Linked DNA regions of Homo sapiens: all the other regions are linked to region 4. The links are contacts of gene promoters, found by promoter capture Hi-C in human tissues and cell types (Jung and others, 2019). All regions are on one chromosome and are shown on one strand. Each heading gives the region's core, a stretch centred on a gene start or on the middle of the fragment in contact. The rest is flanking DNA. Distances are from core to core; before and after follow the strand shown.

Region 1 (4,526 bases), core at 1,126-3,625, 120 kb before region 4:
GGTTCAAGCGGTTCTCCTGCCTCAGCCTCCGGAGTAGCTGGGATTACAGGCGTGCACCACCATGCCCGGCTAATTTTATTTTTAATAGAGACCATGTTGGCCAGGCTGGTCTTGAACTCCTGATCTCAGGTGATCGCTGGCCTCGGATACCCAAAGTGCTGGGATTACAGGTATGAGGCACCACACCCAGCCTGTTTTTTTACGCTTATGGATAAAGCTGGTATGACATTCATACTCAAGTTTTGTTTTGTTATGTTTTCATTTCTTTTGTAACTGTGGAATTGTACTTTAACAGAAATTTTCAGACTAGTTTGTTCTATGATTTTACACTTTCACTAAGGAAGTGTGAGAGTCCAACATTTGGAGTTATGTATCTTTTTACTTTTAACTATTTTAGTGGCATCTTATTATGGTTTTTAATTTGCATTTTCCTGATGACATAATGTTGAAGAACTTCTTCCTTTTTGGCCATTTCCATATCTACCTTTGTGAAGTGCCTTTTCAAATATTTTGGCCATTTTAAAAATTGAGAAAGTTTTGTTTTTGTTTTGTTTTTTTAAATATTTTATATCACATATTTGTTCATCCCCCATCCAGCCATCAGTTTATTGTATTTTTGATGCAGTAAGTTGCAGACATCAGTATATTTCTTTCTGAAATATTGCAGCATGCACATCATTAACTCAAGCTCAGTGTTTCTAGGGTTTTTTTGAGACAAAACTTACATACATCTGTGCATGTAGGAGTTATTTATGTTCTGAATACAAGTTCTTTGCCACATATATATATAGTGAATATTTTCTTCTAGCCTGTTAATGTTGTCTTTTGATGAGTTTCTATTTTATCAATTTTTTCTTTTATGGTTAATTCCTTATGACTCTCGTCTAATGAATCATTGGCTATGCCAAGATGGTAAGATATTTTCTGTTTTCTTCTAGAAATTTTGTAGTTATAGTGCTGACATTTTTATCCATGGTTTGCCTCTAACTTTTTGTGTACAGCATGAGGTAGAAATCAAAGGACATGTCTTTCATAGATAACCTGTGATCCTATTAACTTTTTTTTTTTTTTTGAGACAGAGTGTCACTCTGTCACCCAGGCTGGAGTGCAGTGGCGCAATCTTGGCTCACCGCAACCTCCACCTCCCGGGTTCAGGCGATTCTCCTGCCCCAGCCTCCTGAGTAGCTGAGATTACAGGTGCTGCCCCACCACACCCGGCTAATTTTTGTATTTTTAGTAGAGACACTGTTTCTCCGTGTTGGCCAGGCTGATCTTGAACTCCTGACCTCAAGTGATCTGCCCACCTTGGCCTCCCAAAGTGCTGGGATTACAGGCATGAGCCACTGCACCTATTAACATTTATTGAAAAAATTTTCTTTGCTTATTGCATTGTTTATCTCTAAGTCTGTCATAGTTTTATATATCATAAATAGAGTTTTTTCAAACTTATTTGTTGTGTGTATGTATGGGGTGGAGGGGTGTGTAGAAATTGAAGGTTGTACGTTGACTTCGTATTCTGTAATGCTAAATTGACTCACTGACAAGTAGTTTTTTTGTGGATTCCTTAAGATTGTTTACATGCATAATTATGTCATCTGCAAAAAAAGACAGTTATACATTTTATCTCCTCTTGTTGATTTATTTCATGGCTAAGGACCCAATACAGTATTGAATAGAAACGACAAGAGTAGTCCTTGAATTGTTTCTGATCACAGTTGGGAAAGCATTTACTTTCTCTCTATTACACATGAAGTGCTGTTTTCGTCAATGCCCCTGATCAGTGGTCAGAGATACTCCTTTATTTTCGTAGTTTGCTGAGGGTTTTCATCATAAATGATGTTGAATTTTGTCAAATAATTTCTTATGAGAAGATCATGATTTTTATTTTGTTAATGTGTTGAAAACTATTGACTTTTGAATATCAGAACAGCCTTGTATTTCTGACATACACTCTACTTGGTCTTCATATGTAACATTTAAAATTTTTAAATTCAATTTGCTGACATTTTATTGATGATTTTCACATCTATATTTAAAAAAGATATTAGACTGTAGAGTTATTGTAATGTCTTTGGTTTTGGCCATAAAATGAGTTGGAAAGTGTTCCTACCTCCTCTTCTTAGTTCTTGGTTTGTGTAAAATTGAAATTATTTCTTCCTTAAATGCTTGGTGAAATTCACCAGTGAAGCCATCTGGATCTGAAGCTTTCTCTGTGAAAAGATTTTTAGTAATGAATTCCATTTATTTGATAGATATAGGACTGATCCAGTTTTTCACTGCAGTTTTTTTTTCAGTTATATAATTTATTTTTTTAAATTGTTTTTTCCCTTAATTATATAAGTTCTATTGGTGTTTTTTTGCAGTCTCTATTTCTTAATTCAGGCTTTCTGTTTCTTTCTTCATTGCATGCATGTTTTCGTTTAAATCCTTGAATAAATTTACAGTAACTATTCTAAAGTCCATTTCTACTAATTTCATTTTCAGTTGTTTTCTTTCTTTCTATGAGGGGATTACATTTTCTTGCTTCCTTGCATGTCTAGGAATTTTTTATTGTGTGCTGTACATTTGTATGTATTACATTGCTGACTACCTGGATTTTGTTATTTTTCTTAATAGAGTGTTGAATTTTGTTTCATTAGGCAGTTGACTTACATGCCAATCAGCTTGATTTTGTTAGGGTGTGTTTTGTAGCTAAATTGTCTCTACTCCTAAGGTGTGGCCTTTCTACTAAATATCACAGAGTGTTTAGCTTGTTCTCTCCTCTCTGGCTAGGCAGAACTCAAACATTTCCTTGCTCTGTGCAAGCTCTGTTATTTCTTCAACATGCAATTGCAGGGTAAATTTTTTTTCCCCAGGTATGGTAGGCTGGAAAATGGTCTCCCAGATAATATCTAGGTTTTCATCTCTGAAACCTGTGAGTGTTACCTTATGTGGCAAAATTTACCTTGCTGGTATATGAGTAAATTACAGATCTTTAGATGAGAGATTATCCTGGATTATCTGGGTGGGCCCTAAATGTAATCACTTTTCCTTATAAGGAGGAGAGGTGAGGAAGATTTGACACACAGAAGGCCTTGTAACCGTGGAAGCTTCTGGAGGGATCCCAGGCCTACTAACATCTGGATTTTGTACAGAACTGTAGGAGCATAAATTCTGTTGCTCTAAGCCACCAATTTTGTCAGCTTAAATTTGTTACAGCAGCCACAGGAAGCTAATGCAGCAGGTGTTCTCCCAGAAATCATCTCTCCAGCAGTTACTTTTTCCCTAAGTCTAAAGACTCATCCTGCACATGTGCAGCTTCATGGTCAGCCAAAGATTCAAGGGAACCCAGTATGCAGGTCCTGAATTCCATAGTGTAGCTCCCTTTCAGTGGTATCCTCACCCAGATATTCCAGCCACCACCATAACCCCAAACTTCAGTTTGTGCCTTTATTTTTTTCAACTAAAGCCCCAATGAAACAGTTTGTCTCTTAAGCTCAGCAAGACAGGGTTTTGTGTGAGTCCCCCACTCCCTGCTCCACAATCTGGAAATTGCCTCCAGGCAGAAAGCTCCGCATTCATGGGGTCTACTTCATTTGATTTTCTTCTCTCAGGCATCACAGTCATATGCTTGGATTTGTTCATTATCTGAAAATGGTCATTTTATATTTTGTCCTGTTTTATATAATTATGGTGCAGGAAAGCTAGTTCCATACCAATTACTCCCCTACAGCTAGGGATGGAATAACCTGCTTTATTTTCATCCATTGTGTGATATAAATGTTTCATGTTTCATTCATTATTTGGCCCCTCTTTCTATAGACTGTAACCTCCAGGAGAGCAGAGGCTCCTTTTTTTTCTTTTTTTTTGGAGGTGAGTGTTTGACACTGTCACCCAGGCTGGAGTGCAGTGGCACAATCTTGACTCATTGCAACTTCCACTTCTGGGATGCGAGCAGTTCTCCTGCCTCAGCCACCTGAGTAACTGGGACTACAGGCATCCGCCACTGTGCCCAGCTGAGGCTCTTTTACTGGTGGCTGTTTCCGCAGTTTGATTTAATACACACAGTTTGGTTTAATAAGTGTTTGTTGCATAAGGGAATCTTTATGAGAATCAGAGCCTACTCCGGCAAACAAGCCTTAAAAGCCACATGTTTGCTTTCCTGCCATGCTTTAGGGTTTATGGCCAGGCTGGAGATAGATATGTCACCTTGGATTTACGGTCATGTGGTGGTGACTCAGCAGAGAAATTCTGCTGCAGACAGAAACATCCTGGTCCAGGGAACGCAACCTGCCCCAATGCCATCAGTGGTGTCGTGCTCAGCCCCGTCAGCAGCAACAGTGGTTTTCCTAGGGTCATTCTCTAGCATGATTTTGGTTCTGGTGCAACCACCTAGCGACCGTTATTTCTGCCCGTCTTCCAATTCTGCCCCTTCAGCCTTCCCGGTGATTCTGAGATGCCCAGTACAGCTGGCTCTTTGTGTCACAGATTTTGATATCTACAAGGGGTCCTGGAACCAGTCCCCCTTGGAAATGAAGAGCCTACAG
Region 2 (4,121 bases), core at 226-2,725, 100 kb before region 4:
CCTACAGAGGCAGGCAGGCCTCCTTGAGCTGTGGTGGGCTCCACCCAGTTCGAGCTTCCGGGCTGCTTTGTTTACCTAAGCAAGCCTGGGCAATGGCGGGCGCCCCTCCCCCAGCCTCGCTGCCGCCTTGCAGTTTGATCTCAGACTGCTGTGCTAGCAATCAGCGAGACTCCGTGGGCGTAGGACCCTCCGAGCCAGGTGTGTGATATAATCTCGTGGTGCGCCGTTTTTTAAGCCGGTCCGAAAAGGTTAATATTCGGGTGGGAGTGACCCGATTTTCCAGGTGCGTCCGTCACCCCTTTCTTTGACTCAGAAAGGGAACTCCCTGACCCCTTGCGCTTCCCAAGTGAGGCAATGCCTCGCCCTGCTTCGGCTCGCGCACCGTGCGCGCACCCATTGACCTGCGCCCACTGCCTGGCACTCCCTAGTGACATGAACCTGGTACCTCAGATGGAAATGCAGAAATCACCCGTCTTCTGCTTTGCTCACGCTGGGAGCTGTAGACCGGAGCTGTTCCTATTCGGCCATCTTCGTTTGAGTCCGCCTCTGTATTTTAATGCCCTTTGACTTGGTTGCCAAGTCATCCCGTTCATCCCTTTAGTTGCCAAGTTACTGTCCTCTAGGGGAGGGCCCCTATCTTATTTCATTTGCTCCTGTGTCTAGCAAGAAATATGGCCTATATTGAAGCTTTTAGTAAATATTTCTTCAGTAAGTGAGTGAATGGCAGTTAGAATGATTTAGAAACCAACTGGCTCACAAAGTCTATTTAAACTATAGTACTGAACAAAGACCAAAGGAGAAAAGCAAAGGCTATCGATTCTGAGCTTGCTATAGCAAAGGAGTCGGCCACCATCACTAGCGTTTGCGCAGAGACTCAAAGGCAGGCAGAGGAATGCAAAAGCTTTAAGACCCACGGAAGAGAAGGCTCAGGTGTGCTGATTGGACTGTTGGCGTGAAGAAGCTGGAGGTAAGCTAACTACGTGCAGGGCACCCTGTGTGATAGGTAAGAGGTACATGTTTGACTTTCTTTAGTTGGTCCTAAGTTGAAAGCAAGGGCAAAATTAGGGAAGCTTCAGTTATTAAGTCCTGGCCATCTGGGGCCGATCGTTACAGAAATTATTTACCTTCCAAGATAGCAATCTGGCTTCCTGCAAGTGTGGTTTATATAGCAGGCTGGATTCCTGGGTTGCTTACTGTAAATAGGGGTTGGTTTCTTGGGCAGGTTGCTGCAGGTGACGGGTCAACATTCTGTTTTTATATATGGTCTGGTCATTGTATATTCAGTTTCTCAGTCCTCAGCTTTATTTCTAATCATAACATGCAATGTTTGATCGTGTCTGTATGGAAATGTGCACCCAACTTAATAGGAAAACGCCACCAGTGGGATCAGGAATGTTTGTGGCTCTAGCCGTCAGCAGAGGTGCCTATTCTGGAGGCAAGTACTTCAGCAGTTAGCACCACAAAGACAAAGCCCACAGATCAAGGGAACTTTCACTATCCCAGATCCTGAGGGAAAAAACTGAACACCACACGGATATAAAATTCAGTTTAACAGATAACCATTGTTTCACGCCGACATACAACCATCCAATCACTGACATTCCCATTGGTTGATGAGCTTAATCCAAGTGGGCTTTCTGGGGAAAGAGAGATGATGTAGCTTTAATGGTAGTTTCAAGAAAATCCCTAGAGACCTCTCACTTTTTAATATGTCTTTTATAAAGGTATCAGTTTTCCCCCCTTGCCTGCTGAGACACATTTTCGCAGTCTTGGCCTCAGAGAACACGCAGATGCCTTATCATCTGAGTCCAGGGTGTCTTGGCAGCCTCTTAAAGAGAGACTGGAGTCTGACCTCCCATAGAAATAGGCTTGCATAAGCAGTTTATTAAAATTATTTGATGGTTCTGTAAGTTCCTGCAGGGCTGTAAGCCCTACTACAGATGGTTTACATTTTAATTTTAATCGTTATGGAAGCCATTAACCCAGAATCTTACCTTGTTCAGCTCTGTTTGGAAAAAAAAATCATTTGCACAGAGAGGTCACTGCTTTTCAAACCAGCAGCTCAATGTTATATACCAGAGTTTCCTTCCAATATATTTTGCTTGTTTTTTTTGGATGGCTTTGTGTTTTCATTTTCCCCAGGGAAAAGATGCACTGGGTTTCAGGATACTCAGGAAGTAAGAGTCCTGGACTCTTACTTCGTGCAAAGTTGGACTCATTCATGCAAAGTTGCACTGATCTCTGTAAGATATATTTGATCTGGATGGTATCTCTTGCTAATATCTCTTTCATCAGCATTGTCTGGATGGGGAGAGCAGGGGTGACCCTACATAACTGCAAAATTGCGGCAGGAACTAACAAGACCATTGAGGTCATGAAGATGACAATCTGCCAAATATTAGCAGACTGCATGTTACTGTGACATCCCTCCCTCCTCTCCCGATCATGGCAGGTTCTCACCTCCACCACTCTTCTCTGACCTCTGCTCTGATCCCTGTCCCTGATGGATAGTTCATCATGTATAACACCTGTATCAAACAAACGCTCTCCCTGAACCGAATCCTTCCTGCTTTCACCTCAGAGCTTCATTTAACCTCACTAGGATGGCCACAAGTCAAACATAGAGAATGACGCAGGAACAGGTCTGCAGTTCAAACCCTAGAGCGCATTCTGTAGTCCATAGGAACAGAAAACGAGCTATGTTAGGAGGGTGTGGCACAAAGCCACACTTGGCTATCTGAGCTCCTATCAGGCATTCAGTCAAGAAGTTAGCAGATAATGACGGGAACAGGACATTATCTGCAGGAAAATAAAGCAAGGTGGAAGCAGCTGCTCCGATGGGAGCTCCCCAAAAGAGTAACCATTGTGACAACCGTGCAGTGGAGACCTGTCTGTAAATGCCAGGAACATTTGCGACGTCATTCACCGTAACGATAATAACAACTCAATAATAAATACTGAGTCTTGACACTGGGCCAGGCACCGAATTATGGGGGGGGGATGTAAAGTATTACCATGATTTTACCCATGAAGAAACAGAGGCACAGAGACATTTGGTACACCCAATGTCACACAGCTTTTAAGTGATAGAATCAGGATTTGAACCCAGATCAACTGATTACAAAGCCAGTGCTCTGTCTCTTATGTCATGCTGTTCCTGACCAAGCCAAGGGTCGGGCTACTTATTCTCGCAGCCCAATAACGAGATGCAGATGAACTGGGAGAGAATCAAGTTTTTATTTCTGTAACCAGTTACAGGGAGAAGGCCTTGAAATTATCCCCAGACCAACTCAAAACTACAAAGTTTTCCAGAGCTTGTATACCTTCTAAGCTATATGTCTACATGTAAGTGTGCATTTGTGCATTCATCTAAAGACATAAGTGATTAACTTCTTTTCATCTATAACTAAGGTCTGAGTCTTGAAGCTCTTCCTCTGGAACCTGAGTAAATTTACTTAACCTAAATGGGTCCAGGTGCTGGGGTCAATACCTTTGTCTTGTCTCCTGCTAAATCATGGAGGTTTGGGGAGTTTCTTTAGTACCCAATAAGGCTTGTTTGTGGAGGCCTGGGGAGTTTCTTTGGACCCCCCAATAAAACTTATTTACTCCTAAACGGGTCCCGTTAAGAATTCCTTCATTATCCTGTCATGATTTAAGGCCCAGGAAAGGCCGAGGCAAAGCTCTTGATGGGCTTTTGTGACATTCCAGCCTTTGCAGAAGGGCACTGACTCTCTCAGCTGTTAATATTTGATGGAACCACTCGGTCAGTGCTGAAACCGTTGTTATGGAAGCCTGAGTTAGTGAAACCTGGCCTGCCACAACGTGGTGAAGAAAGCAAAAGAAAATAACTGGGAAAGAGGTATAAAACCTAGCCCCATAAAACGTTTTTTTGTTCGTTTGTTTGTTTTTTCCAAACAGAATCTTTCAGAATCCTGTTGTTCTGGCAGGTATTTTTTAATATTTCCTTCTTACAAATTTCCTTTTTACAGATGATATGCATTATATTGACATTAACAATCAATCTTAGACACAAGTGATTGTTTTTATAAATAGGATCTCCTCAATATTAGTGATCCTATATTAAGAAAGATAGTACATGTGAACCAATGGTAACCAAAAAG
Region 3 (4,524 bases), core at 455-2,954, 71 kb before region 4:
TTGTGGAAAGAGGAGGGAGGTAGCATGAAAGTCATGAGTTTTCCCTTCCTGGCCTGGGGTCCAGTGGAGGAGAGGGGCCTGAGGATGTGGCCTACACAGGCTTGCACTGTGGACCTCTTCCCAGGCCCTCCATGCTAGGGAGCCAACCCTGTAGAAAGAAATGCACGTGTGTGATCAGTGCCTGCTTGGACCACCCAGTTATCTACTGATCAGAAAGATCATGTTGCCTTTCAAAATCATTTAGTGACCTGCTGAAACTTTACCACCATTGTATAAGGAAATGATGTATTGCTTCAAGCCCAGCTCAAAGAAGTAAGCTTAAATAAAACTTTACATAGTCCAAAGCCTTCTCCGCATCACAACATCTTTCCTAATGCTTTCTGCTCATGTTTTGGTTTTTCTTCCATCATTACTATAGCACCCTATAATTAGCCATATGAATAACAACTTATTGTGTGCCTTCTAGAGCCAAGTAAGCTCTAAGTACTTAATATAGATTAACTTATTTAATATTGTAACCGCTCCATGAGACAGCTGCTATTCATCATCATCCTCTCAGCCGGGTGTGGTGGCTTATACCTGTAATCCCAGCACTTTGGGGGGCCGAGACAGGCAGATCCCTTAAGGTCAGGATTTCGAGACCACCCTGGCCAAAATGGTGAAACTCCATCTCTATTAAAAATACAAAAATTAGCTGGGAGTGGTGGCAGGCACCTGTAATCCCAGCTACTCGGGAGGCTGAGGTGGGAGAATCGCTTGAACCTGAAAGGAGAAGACTGCAGTGAGCCGAGATTGTGCCACTGCACTCCAGCCTGGGTTACAGAGCAAGACTCCATCTCAAAAAAAAAAAAAAAAAAAAATTATCCTCTCCACTTTACAAATGACAGTTCTAAGGCACTAGGAAAAAATCAAGTAAAATCCCCAAGATCTCATAGCTCATCAGTGGCAGAACTGTGACTTGAACCCAGAAAACTGGCTTCAAAAAGAAATGAACCACTGCGTAATTGCTACTTTTTAAAAACTGAAGTTGAACAAGTTCAGATTAAAAATTTTGCTCAACTCCACTATGTCCTAGGTGTGTGACTTTGGACAAGTTAACTTTGTAAGTCTGTTATGTTATCTAAAAATTGGGATGAGAATACACCTACTTCATGGAATCATTATAAGGATTGGATTGGTATATCCAAGTACAGTTGTCCCCGTTATTCACAGTTTCACTTTCACTGGTTTCAGGCATCTGAAGTCTACCATGGTCTGAAAATATTAAATGGAACATTCCAGAAACAAACAATGTATAAGTTTTAAATTGCACTCTGTTCTGAGGAGCATAATAAAATCTCACTCCATCCTGCTCCCTTCCACCCTGCCCTGCATAGGGGGGATTCATTCCTCTGTCTAGTGTTTTCACTCTGCCAGCGCTCCCCACCCATTAGTCACTTAGGAGGTATCTCGGTGATCAGATCAACACTTGCTGTATTGCAGAGCTTGTGTTCAAACAACCCTTATTTTATTAATAATGGCCCCAACATGCAAGAGTAGTGTGGCTGGCAATTTGGACATGCCACAGAGAAGCTGTAAAGTGCTTCCTTTGTGTAAAAAAAAAATGAAAGTTCTCAACTTCATAAGGAAAGAAAAAAATTGTACGCCGATGTGGCTAAAAGCCACAGTAAGAACAACTCTTCTGTTTGTGAAATGGTGAAGAAGGCAAAAGAAACTTATGCTAGTTTTGCTGTTGCACCTCAAACTTGAAAAAGCATATATAGGTCTGTACTACCCCCTGTTTCAGGCATTCACTGGGGGTCTTGGAACATACCCCCTACGGATAAGGGGGGATGACTGCGAAATTGCTCAACACAGTCCCTGGCATGTAGAAAGTCATCAATGATTGTTATCTTAAAATAAAAGAAGAAAAAAACAGGCAGTAGGGATTTTTATCAGGAGGAATAGGAGGTATAAGCCTCATTGTTTGTTCATATTAGGTTGGTGAAAAAGCAATTGTGGTTTTGCCATTTAAAAAAAAAAATGTAATGGCCAAAACTACAATTACTTTTGCACCAACCTAATAAACGATTCTCCTGTGACCTAGTGGGAGGGAGAAGCATTAGCCAACCAACAGTGAAAGGCCCCATTTGGATTAGGCTGTTCCTGATGTCCTGGGTACAAATTCAGAGCCATGTTGACCTTCTCACTATCTGGCCTCAAGCTAGAAAGGACAGACCAAAGTGACCTCTTGATCTCGTCTTCATTTAGATACAAGAGAAGAAAAGTATGACGATTACTACCACATTCATGGAGCCCTTATTAAATGCCAGGCACTGGCTGAACCCTTTGCATTATCATCACAGTTAATCCTCACAAACAACTTTATGAGATTATCGTTACCACTGCACCTGTTTTTAGAGTAAAAAGCAAAAACGAAACCTTAAGATGCAGAGAAGTTGAGCAGCTTACTTAAGGTCACCCAGCTGTTGAACAGTAAGCCCGAGATTTGAACCCAAGTCTTTGTGTCTTATTCAGTTGGTGCTTCTGTAATAAATTACCATAGACCGGGTGGCTTCAATGACAAACATTTGTTTCTTACAGTTCTGGAGGCTGGAAGTCCGAGATCAAGGTGCCGGCAGACCCGGTGTGTGTTGAGCACCTACTTCTTGGTTTGCAGACGGCCGTCTTCTTGTCGTGTCCTCACATGGTGAAGGGAGAAAAGCAAGCTCTCCCTTGTCTCCCTTGTCTCCTCTTGTGACAGCACTAACCTCATCACAAGGACTGCATCCTCACAACCTAATCACCCCCCAAAGGTCCCACCTCTGAATATCATCCCATTGAGGGTGAGGATTTTGACACATGGATTTAGGGGGCATGCATTCAGACCATAACACCAGGTGACTCCAAAATGCCCATGACATACTGCCTTGTTGATCTGCCACCAAGAATGTGACATTTGGAGCAATATTAACCAGGACTGAAACCACAAAAACAAAAACAAAATGCATCTGGCATGCTGGGGTTTTGGGGAAGGGTGAGCAGTTCTTTGACCTGAAAATAAGGAGAGCCACCTTGGGTTCCCACAAGTCCTGTTTGCACATTGCCTCATCCCTCTTCATCCCAGCAGGTGAGGCAGAGTCCTAGCCAGAGAGAGGGGAGGGATGGGAACCTGGAATGGTGCACTAGGGGAAACTCACATCCCATCATTTTCACATGTAGGGCCTTTTAGAGAGTGAGTTCTTCTTGGAGCCATTCATCCTGAGGACCCATGAAGATGTGGGCCTGAGTGTTAGCCATAAGCCTTTGAAAACACTTTGGCAATGATATTGATGATAATGATGATGATGGTATAAATTAGAATGCGGTGCTTGCAAGTAACGTAAAGTGAATTCTGACTGTCTTTTACCAAAAGGAGAGTATTTTTGAATGTATATATTATTCACATAATCAAGGCAAGCTTGGAGGACTGAGCTTAAAATGTTGGATTAGGGGGAGCCGAATGTTTATAAAGGACCAAGAAATGGGAGACACACCTTCCATTTGTGGGAGATTGTCAGCCTCACCCTTCATGTTGACATTCCATTCCCTAAGAGGGTCATATGTTTCTTCATATGTCCAAGTCCTGGAGCTAAAATGCTGGCAGAGGCAGGATGTAGACCTTATGTCTTCTATGGTTGGAAGAAAATAGCTGCTTCCCATCAAGATCTCACATCTGGGCAATGACCCCCAAGTAGGAAAGTAAGTGGATACTGCACAGCCACACCCCCTCCAAAATATCCAGCATCATAATGGCAATGGCGTGTACTGGCCTAGCTCTCATATAATTTTCAGGCCTGTTTTGCAACTCATCTTAGATATTCAACATGGAAGTGTGTGCTTTTTGTTCGTCAGTGAAAATTTCTTGCCTGAACATTTAAGCCTTACCAAAAAACCCTACCCAGGCCAAGAACAGCATGTTTCTATTTAGAACCTTCTCTATGTGGAATTAGTTCACCTCTGACAGTCAGGAGACAGAGCACAGGGCAATGCTAAAGAGAGGGGTGATGTTGTGTCCAGCAATGAATCATTACCTGTAATCAAAATCGGAGAAAGAACAGAAAATGGAGCTAAACAAAAATCTCTCTATAATAAAATTCTCTGGGCAATTACCTGGTGGCGAGAACATCTTCACACAGATGGAATTACCTGAGAGGAACAAATAATTTGCAACAAATGCCTGGAGTTTCCTTGATCTTCCTGATTCCCATGGTAGTTTGGGATCTCACTTTAGTCATCTCTATATTTTGCAATATGGTAGATAAGTTTTACTGCCTTACTGTGCTAGACACAATGTACATTATGCTGTTATCCTAGCTGAGCATGAGTCCAATAATCTAGGATTGCCACTGGTCAGCTAAAATCTTTGATTTCCACCTTGAGGCTTGGTAAGGATTTTAATTCATCTTGTTCCAGAGGGACTGTGTTCATAGACTTTGGGGATGAGATCCCAAAATAAATTTTAACAGAAAAGTTGCTTTTCTATGGGAGAGGGTCACTAAACGG
Region 4 (4,454 bases), core at 20-2,519:
TTCCACAGCTGATTTTTTTTTTATTTGGTAGGGCTTTCTGGGTTAGGATAACGCTGGATAATCCTAATTACAGCCCTATCCAAGCTTAAACTCCATAACCAAGCAAAAATTTTACAACTCAAAGAAATTTAATTTGGCCTCACACTTGCAATGGGGAAACACACACACACACACACACACACACACACACACACACACACAAACAAGGGAAAAACTGGCAGCTCAGCTAACAGGCAACTGAATGTTGGACACGATGCCAAGTTGGTCCAATTAAGAAACATTAGAGGTCTAATGAGGAACAGTTCAGACAGGACACAAGGTTCTTGACAGCAGCCAAGCAAACTGCAAAGTCTCCAGCCCAGGTAAGTGAATCCCTTCAATATTTCAAAACAGCAAGGGACAAGTAGAACTTGGCTTGTAAGCGTTCTTGCATACCTAGGGAAGAAGAGTCCAGGTGGAGAACCTGGCCAAACAATGATGTCAGAACAAAAGTCCATTTAAGCCTAAAAAACAATCTATGGGACATTCCTGGGTACAATAGAACACATGAAATATTGCCATTTTGCCTATTAATATTTATTCCTGGGAAATTTTAACAAAATCATTGTCTGGGTGCACTTCATCCTCTCCTTCCCTCCCACTACCAGCCCCTTCAAATGCACCTCCTGGAAAAAACGGAACGAAAACAGTGTCATGAAAAATACTTGGGTGAGGGCTTTCATTTACTCCATGCCAAGTATTTTATTTTTAAGCCAGATTTGACAAAGTCCTGCTAAGGCAAAGCAAGTTTCAGATCATACCCTCAGTGAAAATTGTAGCACCGTCTGCTTACCTGTCACCAGGACTGCCTTCTGATCCACAGGTAACAATTCTTGGCCAGATAAGTAAGTATACATGAGGAAGCATGACACCGAGAAGAGGATCAAGCCCCAAAAAGGGGACAGGATGAGCAGGCAGACTGCACAGAGGCCTGCCAGGCAGACCATCCAGCTCCACAGCTGCCCTGAGCTCTTCTTGTATTTGCAAAATACTGTCCCACATAGTACTGTGGGGACAGCCAGGCAGATCCATGCTGTGTCCGAGAAGAAAGTGCTCATTCTCAGTGACTTGCTGCACCTTCAAGTGCTCAGGGCCAGTGAGTCTAGCGGGCAAAGGCTGGCTGGAGGCAGCCTGAGTTCTGTGAACAGAGAGTCAAGAAGGGAGGGGAGAAAGCAGCCCCAGCCCCTTTCAACTGAGCATAGATTAAGCATAATCATATTCCCAGTGGGTAATTTAAACCAGTGTGCACTTCAACATAAATACCAAGGCACTTCCTATTTGACCGCTCTCGCCCCTCCCCACCCCCTGCATACACAACACATGCACATACTCACCCACAAACACACACCTTCTATTTTTTTTTAATGACAGTCCACCTCTGGAGCGATGACTAACTGGATAATAATTGACAGAATTTGAACTGCATGGAGAATAACAGGAAGATCCTCTAGCTCACAGGAAAATACTGTCTTCTTCAAGAGCCTGCAGTATGTCTGGGTGCTGAGTCCTTTTTCTGACTCGGGAGTGAGTGAGAGTGTGTGTGTGTGTGTGCGTGTGTGTGCATGCATGCATATAAATATAGGCAATCGATGAAGTTTGGAAAATAGATTCTGGAAGGGAAGGCACCTCTGATCTGGTCCATAGCTTCAGGACTCCTACAAATCCCAACTGAGGCAGGCTGAAGGGTTGGATGGAGAGGGATATGAAAGTAGAGGAAGATATTCCTTGGTAGAGGAAAGTGCTTTGGTCTTGCCTGAGTGGAAACATGCCAGGGAGAGATAATAATGACAATTAACTAATAGCGGCTAATATCTATTGGTAGTTTTTTGTGGCAGAGGCTGTGTATAGCTGCTTATTTGTTCTTTCTCTTTATTGTAAGCCTATTCTATGCCAGCCTCCATTCACTGGGACTCCTCTCATCCTCCTTGAATACAATATCCTTATGAAGTTGATTCTAGTATTATAGTAATTTTACAGGTGAGGAAACCAGGACACAGAGAGGGTAAGAGACTTAGTCAAGATCACACAGCAGTGGAGTCTTGCAGCCTGATCTCAGAGCTGTATGCCCCTAAGCATTCTATTCCACTGCCTGCTTTAGGCAAAAAAAAAAAAAAAAATTAGTGCATTATGTGCTAGATCTTTCCTACTTTCACCCCATTTCAACCTTATAAAACTGTTTGAGGTGGGTGTTATTATTATGGTCAGTTTACAGAGAGAAAAACTGAGGCTGGGAAAAAATAAATCCCTTACTCACAAGCGGCTTAAAAGCCAGCACTCTGCAACTACAGCACCACCTAACCGTGCTAAGCCAGAGAGGGGTCACCGCACCTGGGCTCAGGGCGTGCCCCATGTGGGCCACATGCCTGGCTGGAGGGAGGCAAGGTTGTGATAAAGGCTGGACTTTGGCATAGCTAGAGAGAAACATTCTCTATTTGAGGTCAGTTTCCCTCTATTCAAATCTAATCTTAACTCCACTACTTATTAATTACATAGTCTTGGGAGGGTCACTTCACCTCCCTAGATCTTCATCCCTTTGGCTATAAAATAATATCATATCCTGCCTGGAACAGTAGAAGGAACCTCATAAATGCTAGTGATTCATGTTTTTTAAACAGGAGGAGAATGAAGAATAAGAGGAAGTCGTGTAAAACAAAGTGTCCAGTGGAGTATAGACTTGTCTCAAAACACGTGCTGGAGTTAAATGAGGGGCAGGAGGAGGAAGGGAGAGGATGCCTTTTGTGGATGATGTTGGGGAGGCAGGACTCGGGAAGGAAGGGACCCAGCAGCGTATCCCCTGTAAAGGGAGGTGAGGCAGAGCCCACCTGGGCTCAAAGCCAACTCAAGACCCAAGGGAGAAGGGGTGGGAAGCAGTGTCTTGTGAACCATTACTGTGCTGTGGGACTGTGGGGTTGGACAACAAGGCAGTTATGAGGGTCTGCGTGGAGTGATGGCAACTGTTGTCTGCCCTCCCAGCCACATGGACATTTGAGTCAGGGAGACGTTACCAGCTCCAGGCCAGGAAGCTTAGGGGCAGGGATCTGGAATTGCCTTTGGCTAGCCCTGAACTCTCCCTCCCTCAACAGACCCCAATTCCTTCCTGGGTGCCATCTGAGCCACAGGGCACCTCTCACAATCCTTGTGGCCTCACCAGCCCAGAGCATCCTGGCAGTTAGCTCCGTTCGAAAAACAGCTTCCAGGTGGGGAGACAGGACTAGCTATGGCTCTTCGCTGAGAGTCTTGGCATTTGGTCAGTGGCTCCCACATTTGGGCTGAGCCAAACACCTGCGCAGGCTTCCTGCCAAGTGCACGCCCACTTGAGAGAGGTGGCTTTTCTCCTGGAGGCAGCCCTTGCGAGTTCCCAGACCTACTCTGTCCTGGGGCTCCCAAGGGGAGGGTAAAATCTATGAGCAAAAGCCACCCTCAGGCCACACAGAAGTCCCATGAAGGATACTCCCTGAGCCCTGATGGTGAAGGGGCTGAACAGTATTAAGAACATGAGCTTTCGGGTCTCACAGACTTCTAAATTGAGTTCGAATCCTGGCTTAGCTGTGAGGCACTGGGCAAGTTACCTGCCCTTCCTAAGCCTCAGTTTCCTCTTCTGTAAATTGGCGGTAGGAGGAGTCTTTCTTCCAAGGGCTGTTTTGAAAAGTGAATGACACCATTCTTGCATCGTCCCTGGCACTTACAGGCACTCATGGATGGTAGGCACTTTTCTCATTGTTGAGAGTACCCACTGCCTCTTAGCCTTTTTCCTCTGAGCAGAGAGAGAGGTTCTTGACAGCTACCTCCTCACTCATTTATTTCTTCTTTCAGTTCAGCACTCGGCTGTTTCCTTTGTCATCCTTCAGATATCTGCTTAAACATCACCTCCTGTCACCCAATCTGAGTATCTCCTATCAGCACGCTTTATTCATTGCCTTTGTTGCGCTTAGCTCAATCCACAATTATATATTTACTTTGATCAGTTTAAGAACGTTTTCTGTCTCCCCTACTAGACCATAAACTTCATGAGGGCAGGAACCTTATCTGTTTATTGTTTTTCCTTTACTGTTCACCACGTGCACAGTCCAGTGCCTGGCACATCACATGTACATAATTAATATTTGTTGGAAAAATATAGGAAGAATCACATCTCTATTGAGAGTCTTCTAGGTGGCCAGTTCTGCACCAGCCATGGAGGAATTCAGTAGTGAACAATATAGACCCGGTTCCTGGCCTTGCAGAGTTGAGGACGCAGTGCTTCCAGGAGGCCTGCTGCAGGAGCAGAGACTAGTGGGGGTGCACGGTGGTGGAAAGGAAGGCTATTTACCAGTTGGGGAATATATGGAATTGCAGAATCCCCAGGTGAGAACTAGCCCAATCCTTTCTAAGCCCTGAATGTCCTCATCCCAACCTCAGGGTCAGTCCATCTCAGA
Region 5 (4,568 bases), core at 1,330-3,829, 64 kb after region 4:
ACCCAGGATCTGAGGTTTTCTTTACAATTCTAGTGGATTCCAATTTTCCTTCTCCAATTAAAGCTCAGAGAGTTTAGGCACTACTTTGCTATTTCCAAGTGGCTGAGGCATGTTAAAAACCTCTAATCCACCACCTTGGAAAAAAAAAAAACACTAATTCACTAAAAGCTTTTATGTGGCATATGTGTTTCATATTATCAATTTCCTTATGGAAAAGCATAATCTATTAATGTAGAGAACTGCATTGATAGGTTTTCCAATATTAAACCATTACTGGATTCCTGAGATTAACTCTACGTTATGAACAAGTGAACATTGGTTTGCAAATATTTTTCAGGATTTCTACTCTATTTAACAGTGAGATTGGCATCATCCTCCCTCCCTTTCTCTCTGTTCCTTTCACTTTTCTTGATTTTCCCTCTCTTCCTTGATTGTCCTCTACCCTCCTAAAATGAGCTTAGGAGGTCTCTTTTTTTTGGTCTGTCACCTTATAATTTTTATTCAATAAAAATATATTCTGTAGTCAGGAATAGTGGTTCATGCCTGTAATCCCAGCACTTTGGGAGGCCAAGGCAGGAGATAGCTTGAGGCCAAGTTTGAAAACAGCCTGGGCAACATAGCAAGACCCCATCTCTACAGAAAATAAAAAATAAATTATCCAGGCATGTGGCTGCATGCCTTTAGTCCCAGGTATTTAGGTGGCTGAGGTGGGAGGATCATCTGAGCCTAGGCGTTCAAAGTTACAGTGAGTTGTGACCCTAACATTGCACCCCAGCCAGGGTGACATGAGCAAGACCCTGACTCAGAAAGCTTTCACGTGTGTGTGTGTGTGTGTGTGTGTGTGTGTGTGTGTGTGTGTGTTCGTGTGTTCCTTCTCTTTTGGGAACAGAAAGCCCAGACACAGATCATTGAAATTATCCAGCCAGAGGAGCAAAAACAGGAAGAAGAAGAGAAGTGGGGGGAGGGGGAAGAAGGGAGAGGTAAGAGGAGGGGGAAGGAGAGGAAGAGGAAGATGAGGGAAGGAGAAGGAAGGAAGAACAGAAGGAAGGAAGAGGAAGAGAAAAAAGCCTCACAGACTTATAGGACACCATAAGCAGACCAAAATACTCATTATGTTAGTTCCAAAAGTAGAAGAGATAAAGAGACAGAAAGCTTCTTTAAATAAATAATGTCCAAAAACTTGTCAAATCTCTGAAAGAAAATGGACCCAAAGGGAATAAACTCAAAGAAGTCCATATTGAGACATCAGTTGTCAAAAGTCAGAATTTTGAGAGCAACAAAAGGGACTAATTACATACAAGGGAACTCCCATAAGAATCAGTGAATTTCTCAGCAGAAACCTTGCAGGCCAGAAAAGAATGGGACAGTATATTGGGAGTGCTGAAAGGAGGGGGAGAAAAGGTTGTTCAAGAATACTGTATCTGGCAAACTGTCCTTTAAAAGCAAAGGAGAAATAAAGACTTTTTCAGATAAAATTTGAAGAAGTTCATCACCGCTAGGCCTGAATAACAACAAATACTAAAGTTCTTGAAGTTTAAACAGACTCTAAGCAGCCATACAAAAGCATATGAAAGTATAAAGTTTGCTGGTAAAGGTAAGTATATAGCTAAACACAGAATACTATATTGTTAGTGTATACATCACTTTTAATTCTGGTACAGATGTTAAAAGCCAAAAGTATTTAAAAACTATGAAAATATGTAAGGGATACACAATATAAAAAGATAAAATTTATGACATAATTGACAAAGTTTGGAGGAAAGAGTAAAACTGTAGAGTTTTTCAATGTGATTACAGTTGTTATCAGCTTAAAACAGATTGTTACAACTATAAAATGTTTCATGTAAGCCCTATGTTAGCTACAAAAATTACAAAAAATCAACAAAGGAAGACAGTGAAAGAAGAAAAGGGACAAAAGAGCTGCAAGACAGACAGAAAATTATTAACAAAATGGCAATAGTTAGTCCTTTCCTATCAATAATTAAATGTAAATGTATTAAACTGCCCAGTCAAAAGACACAAAGTAGCTGAAGGATAACAAGATTCAACTAGATGCTGTATATAAGAGACTGACTTTAAGTTTAATGACACACATATACTTAAAGTGATAGGATGGAGAAAGATACGCTAAGCTACTAAAAGAGGGGTGACCATACTTAAACAAAATAGACTTTAAGTCAAAAGCTGCTACAAGAGACAAAGAAGGACAGATAATGATTAATGGGTCAGTTCACCAAGAAGATATAATAATTGTAAATATGTATGTACCAAACATCAGAGCACTTAAATATATGAAACAAACATCGGCAGAACTGAAGGGAAAAACAGCATCGCAATAATAGTAGGAGATTTCAGTAATGAATAGAACATCTAGACACAGGATCAATAAGGAAACAGAGGGCTTGAAAAATACTATAAATCAAATGCACCTAATAGTCATATACAGAACATTCCACCCAACAGTAGCAGAATACACATTTTCTCAAGTGCACACAGAAATATTCTCCAGGACAGATCACAAAGCAAGTCTTAACAAACTTAAGAAGATTGAATTCTCAAATTTATTTCCAACTACAGTGAAATGAAACTAAAAATCAGTAGGAGAAGGAAAATCAGAAAACTCATAAATATATGGAAATTAAATAACACCTACTCTGGAACAACCAATGGGTCAAAGAAGATATAAAAAGGTAAATTATAAAATATCTTTAGACAAAACAAAAACATAACTCATGGAGAAAAAAGCAGTAGGAAGAGGAAAATTTGTGGTGATAAATTCCTACCTCCCAAAAGAAGAGCTCAAATAACCTAACTTCTATACCTCAAGGAATGAGAAACAAACAGACTAAGCCCAAAGATGGCAGAAGAAATGAAATAATAAAGATTAAGGTAGAAGTTATCAAAGTAGAGAATAGAAAATTAAGACTGAATCATAAAGAAATAGAACATCTGAACAGACTTTTAGCTAGTAAGGAGATTCAATCAGTAATCAAAAACATCTCAAAAAAGGCCCAGGACCAGAAGATTTTGCTGATGAATTCTATTAAACATTTAAAGAACAATTAAGACGAATGCTTCTGAACTTTTAAAAAGTAGAAGAGGAACGAATACTTCCGAAGTCATTTTATGAGGCCAGCATTACCCCAGTGCCAAAGCCAAAAACAGACATTACAAGAAAAAAATAATGCAGACCAATATCCCAGATATAGATGCAAAATTCTTAACAAAATACAAGCAAACCACATTCAATAGCACATTAAAAGGACATACACCATGATGACTAAGTGGGATTTAGTCACTTATAAGAGACTGGAGAGTATCCCTAGGACATAAGAATGATTACAAATATGCAAATCAAAAATGTGATACACCACAGGAACAGAACAGAGGATAAAAATTACATGATCATATCAATAGAAACAAATTGCGTTTGGCAAAATTCAACACCCTTTTGTGATTAAAAAAACTTAGGAAACTAGGTGTATTAGTCCATTTTGTGTTGCTATAAAGAAATACTTGAGATTGGATAATTTATTTTGGCTTTCAGTTCTGTGGACTGTGAAGCATGGTGCCAGCATATGCTTCTGGTAAGGCCTCATGAAGCTTTTAGTCATGGTGGAAGAGAAGGGCAGCCAGTGTGTCATATGGCAAGGGAGGTAACAAGAGAAATGCCAGGCTCTTCTCAACAACCAGCTCTTAAATGAACTAAGAGTGAGAACTCACTCATTACTGTAGGGAGGGCACCAAGCCATTCATGAGGGATCTGCCCCCATGACCCAAACATCTCCCACTAGTCCCTACCTCCAACACTGGGAATCACATTTCAATATGAGATCTGGAAGGGATGACTATCCAAATCATATCACTAGGAATAACAAGGAAATTACCTCAACATAATAAAGGCCCATATATGAAAACACGACAGTTAACATATTCAAAGGTAAAAAACAAACTTTTCGTCTAAGATCAGGAAAGAGGTGAGGATGCTCACTCTCACCACTTCTATTCAGCATACTAGTGAAGGTTCTAGCCAGAGCAAGTAGACAAGAAAAAGAAATAAAAGGCACGCAAACTGGAAAGGAGGAAGAAAAATTATCTTTGTTCACAGATAACATGATTTTAGGTGTAGAAAATCCTATAGATTCCACCAAAGGGGAAAAAAACTGTTAGAACTAATAAATTCAGTAAAGTTACAGGATTCAAAGTCAGCATACTAAAATTAGTTATGTTTCTGTACACCAACTACAAGCAATCTGGAAAGGAAATTACAGCAATCGCATTTATAACAGCGTCAAAAAGAAAACACTTAGCAATAAACTTAACCAAGGAAATGAAAGACTTGTACACTGAAAACTATAAAATATTGCTGAAAGAAATTTAAAACACAAATAATGGAAAGACATCCTATGTTCATGAACTGGAAAACTTAATATTGTTAAAATGTCCATATTACCCAAAGTGATCTACAGATTCAATGTCATTCCTACCAAAATCCTAATGGCATTTTTTACAGAAATAGAAAACACAATCCTAAAATTCATATAGAACCACAAATGATCCCAAATAGC

What was found. Contacts are between HindIII fragments. The study calls those that stand out against the background at their distance.
Region 1: a contact is called between a fragment that was not itself captured here and the fragment with the promoter of HSD17B2 in region 4, in 2 of the 25 tissues and cell types used here (bladder and spleen).
Region 2: a fragment that was not itself captured here is called in contact with the fragment with the promoter of HSD17B2 in region 4 in 3 of the 25 tissues and cell types used here (adrenal gland, neural progenitor cells and spleen).
Region 3: a contact is called between a fragment that was not itself captured here and the fragment with the promoter of HSD17B2 in region 4, in 2 of the 25 tissues and cell types used here (mesendoderm cells and thymus).
Region 5: a contact is called between a fragment that was not itself captured here and the fragment with the promoter of HSD17B2 in region 4, in 3 of the 25 tissues and cell types used here (liver, ovary and thymus).

The regions. Positions count from the first base shown.
Region 1 is chr16:82,152,451-82,156,976 of GRCh38, reverse strand. All of the region lies in intron 2 of MPHOSPH6 (M-phase phosphoprotein 6), which reads left to right. Among named protein-coding and RNA genes, the nearest start is that of MPHOSPH6, 16 kb to the left of the region's middle. RefSeq lists an enhancer at 4,099-4,393. The HindIII fragment of the contact is 4,298 bases long and covers 227-4,524 here.
Region 2 is chr16:82,135,666-82,139,786 of GRCh38, reverse strand. No RefSeq gene overlaps it. Among named protein-coding and RNA genes, the nearest start is that of MPHOSPH6, 32 kb to the left of the region's middle. RefSeq lists an enhancer at 1-357. The HindIII fragment of the contact is 3,486 bases long and covers 1-3,218 here.
Region 3 is chr16:82,103,408-82,107,931 of GRCh38, reverse strand. No RefSeq gene overlaps it. Among named protein-coding and RNA genes, the nearest start is that of HSD17B2-AS1, 39 kb to the right of the region's middle. The HindIII fragment of the contact is 4,940 bases long and covers 1-4,174 here.
Region 4 is chr16:82,032,068-82,036,521 of GRCh38, reverse strand. HSD17B2 (hydroxysteroid 17-beta dehydrogenase 2) reads right to left here and starts at 1,269. Exons shown (of 5, transcript NM_002153.3): 1 at 833-1,269. The coding sequence starts at 1,097. The HindIII fragment of the contact is 4,836 bases long and covers 1-4,397 here.
Region 5 is chr16:81,968,786-81,973,353 of GRCh38, reverse strand. No RefSeq gene overlaps it. Among named protein-coding and RNA genes, the nearest start is that of SDR42E1, 40 kb to the left of the region's middle. The HindIII fragment of the contact is 3,196 bases long and covers 982-4,177 here.